2 separate regions of the Homo sapiens genome follow, and region 1 is linked to region 2. Evidence: promoter capture Hi-C in 16 types of primary human blood cells and fetal thymus (Javierre and others, 2016). All regions are on one chromosome and are shown on one strand. The core of a region is centred on a gene start or on the middle of the fragment in contact, and the rest is flanking DNA. Distances in the headings are between cores, read along the strand shown. Region 1 holds the start of LDHAL6B (lactate dehydrogenase A like 6B). Region 2 holds the start of RNF111 (ring finger protein 111).

The links. The method cuts DNA at HindIII sites, captures the fragments that hold promoters and counts their contacts. A CHiCAGO score of 5 or more calls a contact.
Region 1: the fragment with the promoter of LDHAL6B here is called in contact with the fragment with the promoter of RNF111 in region 2 in 2 of 17 cell types (M2 macrophages and endothelial precursors); the score reaches 6.9 in M2 macrophages.

Annotation. Positions count from the first base shown.
Region 1 is chr15:59,205,071-59,208,436 of GRCh38, reverse strand. It overlaps LDHAL6B (lactate dehydrogenase A like 6B), which reads right to left and starts at 1,594. Exons shown (of 1, transcript NM_033195.3): 1 at 1-1,594. The coding sequence starts at 1,496. The coding sequence ends at 351. It overlaps MYO1E (myosin IE), which reads left to right. Exons shown (of 28, transcript NM_004998.4): 15 at 2,952-3,037. The HindIII fragment of the contact is 11,888 bases long and covers 821-3,366 here.
Region 2 is chr15:58,985,999-58,989,489 of GRCh38, reverse strand. It overlaps RNF111 (ring finger protein 111), which reads right to left and starts at 1,827. Exons shown (of 14, transcript NM_017610.8): 1 at 1,422-1,827. RefSeq lists a silencer at 944-1,108. The HindIII fragment of the contact is 2,845 bases long and covers 676-3,491 here.

The DNA of each region.
Region 1 (3,366 bases), core at 345-2,844, 220 kb before region 2:
AACCAGCAAGAATGAAAGAAATAGCATATATCTAATGAAAAGAGTCGGAATTTCTAGAACACAATAAATACCTACATCCTACTTTTTGGGAACCAAATGCCAACTACATATATATAACATGGCAAGTGCTGCTACATCAGAGGTACCAAAAATACTTAGGAATTGTAAATAAGTATCGTCCAGCACGTGGATGCTCAATAAAAGAGCTGGAGGACTAAATAAATAGGAAAATCACTCTACCTACTTTCCTGTTTCCATCTTTTAGGAATTCAAGTTTATTCAAAATTTCGTTATATAATCCTGTATCTATGATCTCTTCAATAATTTCGGAATGGTAGTTTTAGGCAACTTTAAAGCTTAAGCTTATTCTGAATTTCCCAGAGTGTTTTTGCACTTTTTTTCAGATGGGCCTCTTCTTCAGGGGTCAGCTTTATCTTTATAAGGTTGGTAATACCGTTCTCTCCCAGGATACAAGGAATACTGAGGAATACTTCTTCATCTATTCCATAGAGGCCCTTAATTATGGTGGAAACTGGATGTATTCTCCTAAGATTCTTCAAAATACTTTCTGTTAAATCGGCCACAGATAGGCCAATGGCCCAAGAAGTATAACCTTTCATTTTAATAATCTCATAGGCAGTTGCAGTCACTTCTTTGTGGACATTTTTCCATTGCTCAGGATCTTTATCAGTTCCTATATCAGAGTTCAGATCCTTCAAAGGGACACCAGCTATGTTCACTCCACTCCACACAGGAACACTTGAGTCTCCATGCTCTCCGAGGATCCATCCATGGCAGCTTTCAGAATGGATACCAAGCTTTTGTCCAATCAAGAAACGAAAACGAGCAGTATCCAGATTACAGCCGCTTCCAATAATACGGTTTTTGGGAAATGCACTCAACTTCCAAGCTACATAAGTTAAGATATCCACTGGATTGGAAACAATAATCAGTTTGCAGTGGGGGCTGTACTGGACAATACTGGAAATCATTAACTTGAAGATGGCCACATTTCGCTGGACTAAATTAAGGCGCGTTTCTCCCTTTTCTTGGCGTGCACCTGCTGTGATAATCACTAGGTTGGAGTTTGCTGTGACAAAGTAATCTTTGCTACAAACAATATTTGGCATTTTCGTGAAAGGGCTGCCATGTTGAAGATCCATCGTCTCACCCTTCAGTTTGTCTTCATCAAGATCCACAAGGGCAAGTTCATCACTCAAGCCTTTTAATAAGATGCTGATAGCGCAGGCCATGCCCACCGATCCAGTTCCTATGATGGAGACCTTACTGTGATGAACGGGCTTCTCGGAAGTGAAACGCTCAATAAGCTCACTCTTCACAGTCGCCATCTTGCTCACGGGGGTGAAGAGCCAGGTGCCGTTGAGCGGGATGCGCGTTGCTTGACGCGGACACAGGGCCATCCCCAGGCATAGGAAATTCGCTCCCACCGAGCTCACTCTCTGGCTGGCCCGCACAACAGGCACAGTCCAACTCATGGCTGCTCACTGAAGAAGTGGAGAGAGAGAATGGAAAAAAGCTGCTGATCCGAACGTTGAGACGCCAAGAGAGCCGTTGGCAGGACCTTCAGCACTCTACGGCAGGTGCGCGTGCCCCGCCCCCTGGCCCTCTACTGCGGCTGCGCGGGCCTTGCCAGAGTCTCCGACACGTGCTTTCCGTGGGTGCTCAGACTAAGGCAGTGAAGGGCTGCTTCTCTAGCAAGTGATTTCTGGAGTTAGTTTTGCTAAGAGTATTATCAATAGTTGACATGCTTAAGAGGCTAACCGAGATCCCTGGAATTACTAGTTTTTTATTTTTAATATGAATGCTGAGGAAACATGCTTCTGTTAACTACAGATGAAAATAAGGTTACGTTTTCTGAACCGTGACCCTGCCAGGAAGGATAGGGCTCTATGCTTTGCGTACTGGTGGCTGCCTGCACCATCTCCCAGTGTCCCAGAATTGGGCGCCTGCTTTCTGGTCTATGGCGCTGGAGGCCTATTTTGAAAGGATTCCACTGCCTTGGTGCCAGTCCTGGCCAGGACCCACCCTGGGACAGTCGGCTGGGGCTTCAGCAGGGTAGGGGCCGGCTGGGAGTCACTCCAGCACTAAATCTCAGCATACTACTGCATATTTTTGGAAAATGAATCACCCTGCTACATGTATTAGCTGCTGAATAAATGGATTTTCGTCTTGCCTCTTGCTGGAATCACAGACTGGCATTCCTTGTCTCCCCATGCCTACTGGTAGTATAAATCAAGGCCCAGAGTGCACTTTTGGTGTTCTTATAAAGCCCATCAGTATTGGGTGCCTACTGGATGCCAGGCTGTGTGGGGCTGCTGATGATAAAAAAGTTAAGTTGAGGTCGTGGTCTTGGGGACTTCCTAGTGCTATGGAAATCCCCTGGTCTCATCCATCATCCCAGCTGATCTCTTGTTAAACAGAGTATCTGAGCATGAGTTTCTGGCCAGATTGGTGCAACTTTGATACCACTTCTGGGAGAAACTGCAAAGCCTCAGATGACATGGCTCATTGCAGTGAATTACTGAGCATGAGGGGCTTCACTTTTGCTCTGGCTTAGCTAAAATTTAGGAAAAGTATTGAGTATGTCACTTAGACACCCCTATGGATCCACTGAAGAAGGGGTATGGGGACTTGAGAGCTGGAGTTCTGATTACGGATCAGCTGGGCCATCCAGGCAGCCAGATACTCATCAGCATCTGCAGGCCTTCCCCACTAAGTCAGCTAACAAGTAAGACGTGCACAGCCTTCCTGTGACAGTGCACAATGAAATCCCAAATGCAACATCTGGAAATCCACATGTTGTGGTGAGGGTAGCCATGACAGCTTTGGTTTTTTGTTTGGTGAAATTAGATTTTTTGTTCAATAAATGATTTTGTTCAATTAATTACATTTTGTTCAATGAAATTCGATTTCTTTCCATTCTTGGCCAGGTATCCTATGACATGGATGGCTTTTGTGAAAGGAACCGGGATGTGCTTTTTATGGATCTCATCGAGCTTATGCAGAGCAGCGAGCTGTAAGTATGTTTTGCCATAGCTGACAGGGGATATAGGTTTGATGAAATTTTCAATATGAAAACAAACTTATGAGCTGGGTGTGGTGGTGTGTTCCTATAGTCCCAGCTACTCAGGAGGCTAAGGCAGGAGGATCACTTGATCCTAGGAGTTTGAGGCTGCACTGAGCTGTGATCACTCCTGTCAATAGCCACTGCCCTCCAGCCAGGCAACATAGGAACACTGTGTCTCTAATAAAGAAAAAAACAAAAACAAAACAAAACACCTGTGATGTTTAGTGGTTAGCATTTTGTTCCTTCATGCTATTGGGTCTGGATTATCATTTAATCTA
Region 2 (3,491 bases), core at 578-3,077:
TCATTCTTCCTACTTTTTCCTAAAATATTATTTAGATTTATAAACACCCTCACCAATTCTTAGAATACTGTTGTGAATCTTTGGTCACAAACAAATGAGCAGGAGAGAGATGATAAAGTCATTTGTCCAAGGTTAAATGGCAAGAAAGTGTCCAAAATAAGATAAATCAAGGCTTTAGAAACAATCAATTTAAAATGATTGTAAAAGTAAAAGGGCTTCCTTCTTATCCATCTGTTTCACCTCACAAATATAACCAGACTAGGGTGAAACAATGTGGCTTATACTGACATGAAGATTTTTACAAAAATACATATAGTAATAAACTATCAAAAGATGTATCTTTACTGTAATAAAGCTAAGTCCAGCGTTACAGAAGTTGTGTATGGTAATCTCAAAATCACATTCAAGCATTTACAACCATCACACACACACACAACAAAAATGGGAAAGGAAATGGAACCTTAGCTTATGTTTTTCCCAGTTTGTTCTTTTTAGTTCAAGAGGCCCCTAAAACAAGAAAATTATAGATAAAATACCAAATGAAATAAAGTTTAGATTAAGTCACATTCAAAAGCTACAGGAAATCCTACAAAACGTAGTCTATGTCAGCTGGCATCTTACCATTCAAGAGAATTCTAAATTAATGCCGCACATAAATCAAGAAACAGGAAAGCTTACAACAACACAATGGAGTCACCCCACAACACACACACGAACAAATTAAATGAATACCTCATACTTTCTGGTATTTTTTGAATAATCAAAACTTAGGTTGAGAAATACCCATCTGTAAAGATCTATCTACTATAACCTATTTAAGAACTGTTGTAACAAATCTATTTCTGCTGCACTGAACAGATATTCCCACTATAGCACTGACACTGACTCTGATAAATTATCGAAGGACAATAGTAAAAACATCAGTTTCTTTTTAAATGACCAACAAGCCAACTCCATACAAAATCTGACGCGTCTGTATTTCAGCTGTTCCGCGGACTACGTTTCCTTGATCACAGCAGCAGCAGGCGACTCCCTAGCCGTCAGGGCTGACTTAGCGCCCTCCAACTCCCCGGGTCCGGGTTACCTTCATCACTCCATTGTCAAATCGCACTCCCACGCCTCGGTCCTCAGCCCCCATCCTGAGACTCTAGGGAGAGTCGGAAGTGGGAGAGAAATCCCCTCACCCACACTCCCTCACTGTAGGCTGTGGGTGTGTCGGTAGACGAATGCCTTGCCCAAACACAAATCGTCTGCGGAGACCCAGACCCTAAGTCACCACCGAGCCAGAGATAACCGGCCGGTCACCGACCCCAGCCTTCCGCGGCCGCAGCCCTTCCTCTTTCTCCCCTCCAGGCCGGCCCCTCCCCCGTTGCGCGCACGCGCGGCCTCCAATGGATCCCCTCCCCCCCCGTTCCCCTCACCTTAATCATTAGCCACCCTCTTCTCTTCCAGGGTCCGGGAATCACTGACCCAGGAAGGAAGACAGAAATGTAAGGCGTAAAGAGTAATGCGTCGAGAGCCAGCGATCTGCGCCTCAGACGTCGGCCTAATAGGCCCCTAGAGTCAAGAACAGTGTCTGTCACCGCCACCAAAACTGTACGTGCGGCAGCGCCTGGACTCGGCCCAGCTAAGCCGGCGTGGGTTCAGAATGCCTAATTTGGTCCCACAAGAACTCCTTCTCTGAAGCTGCGGGCGTTTCTACGCTGCGCAAACCGAACACCTCCTCGCCGTCGCCGCCACTGCCGCTGCTCCCCTACAGCCGCCGCCGCCGCTTCGCCGCCGCCGCCGCCTAACCAATTCCTCCCCTACCGAGGAGAGCACGACACTAGGGCTCTTTACGACAGTTCGGAAAGTGAGAGCGCAGTAGCCTTCACGCCTCCATTAACATCTGTTTGTTTCTGCGCTTGCTCGATTCCCGTTTCTCACCGTCCCGCCCCCTCGGTCCCGGCCCTCCCCCTTTGTACTGGTTTTATCAGTCTGTTGGCGAACTGAAAGGTGTCACAAAGCTCATTATTTAATTTTCTTTGGTGATTATGCGTTCAACATTTAAGCCAAATCTTGACTACATCTTGGTTCATTTTTTCGTAACTAAAAATTAACCAACTACAGAATTGATACATTTACAGATATACGTAAACAAAAACATCATGGGTTAGTGTCTTTCACAACAAATGATACCCATATCATATGCGCTAATGACATAAAGATCACGGCACCTCACTGTTAAAGTGAATTTGCTTCCGGAATCAGATCAAAAGTGGTCACATATCTCCTGCGAACTCGGGCTGTACAATCGCATAAGCCTCCTTGTTTATTTTATAAAAGTCAGTAGATAACAAATGCGTCATTATATGCATTAGGAGGATAGAGAGAGGATGAGCTTCAGAGTCCATCAGGCAGACTTCCTTTCAAAGTCCAGTGGTGCCACTTAAGAGTTCTCTGATTGATGAGATCCTTATAAATCTTAGTTTCCTCCTCTATAAATTGGGATAACGTATTTACCTCAAAAGGTTCTTGTTAGATTAAATGAGACAATTTATATAATGCTCTGAACATTACTTGCCAATTAAGTGTTCACTAAACATTAATTCCCTCCCTTTGCCATCAACTCATCTTTTTCAATACTTTTTTTGTTCACTCATATTTTCCGTATCATTCAGTAAGCAAATGATTTTGGCCGGGCACGGTGGCTCACGCCTGTAATCCCAGCACTTTGGGAGGCCTAGGCGGGTGGACTACCTGAGATCAGGAGTTCAAGACCAGCCTGGCCAACATGGTGAAACTCCTTCTCCACTAAAAATACAAAAACTAGCTGGGCGTGGTGGCGGACGCCTGTAATCCCAGCTACTCGGCAGGCTGAGGCAGGAGAATCGCTTGAGCCAGGGTGGCCGAGGTTGCAGTGAGCCATGATCAAGCCATTGCACCCCAGCCCGGGTGACAGGGAGACTCCGTCTCCAAGAAAAAAAAAAAAAAGGCTGGGCGCGGTGGCTCACGCCTGTAATCCCAGCACTTTTGGAGGCCAAGGCGGGCGGATCATGAGGTCAGGAGATGGAGACCATCCTGGCTAACACGGTGAAACGCTGTCTCTACTAAAAATACAAAAAATTAGCCGGGCGTAGTGGCGGGCGCCTGTAACCCCAGCTACTCGGGAGGCTGACACAGGAGAATTGCTAGGACCCGGGAGGCAGAGGTTGTAGTGAGTGCGAGATTGTGCCACTGCACTCCAGCCTGGGCGACAGAGTGAGATTCCGTCTCAAAACAAACAAACAAACAAACAAACAAAACACACACACACACACACACACAAATGATTTTAAAATTACAATAATGATCAAGGATAGCAGATTGTGTGGGAAAACTAAAAGAGCATTCGACTAGGATTTTCCTCAATCCTCCTATTTTCTCACTCTTAAACATAGAATTTTGCCCGGACTATCTTATCTTCTCCCTTGATTTTAACTGTTACTATCTCATGACTTCTCAAACCTGTA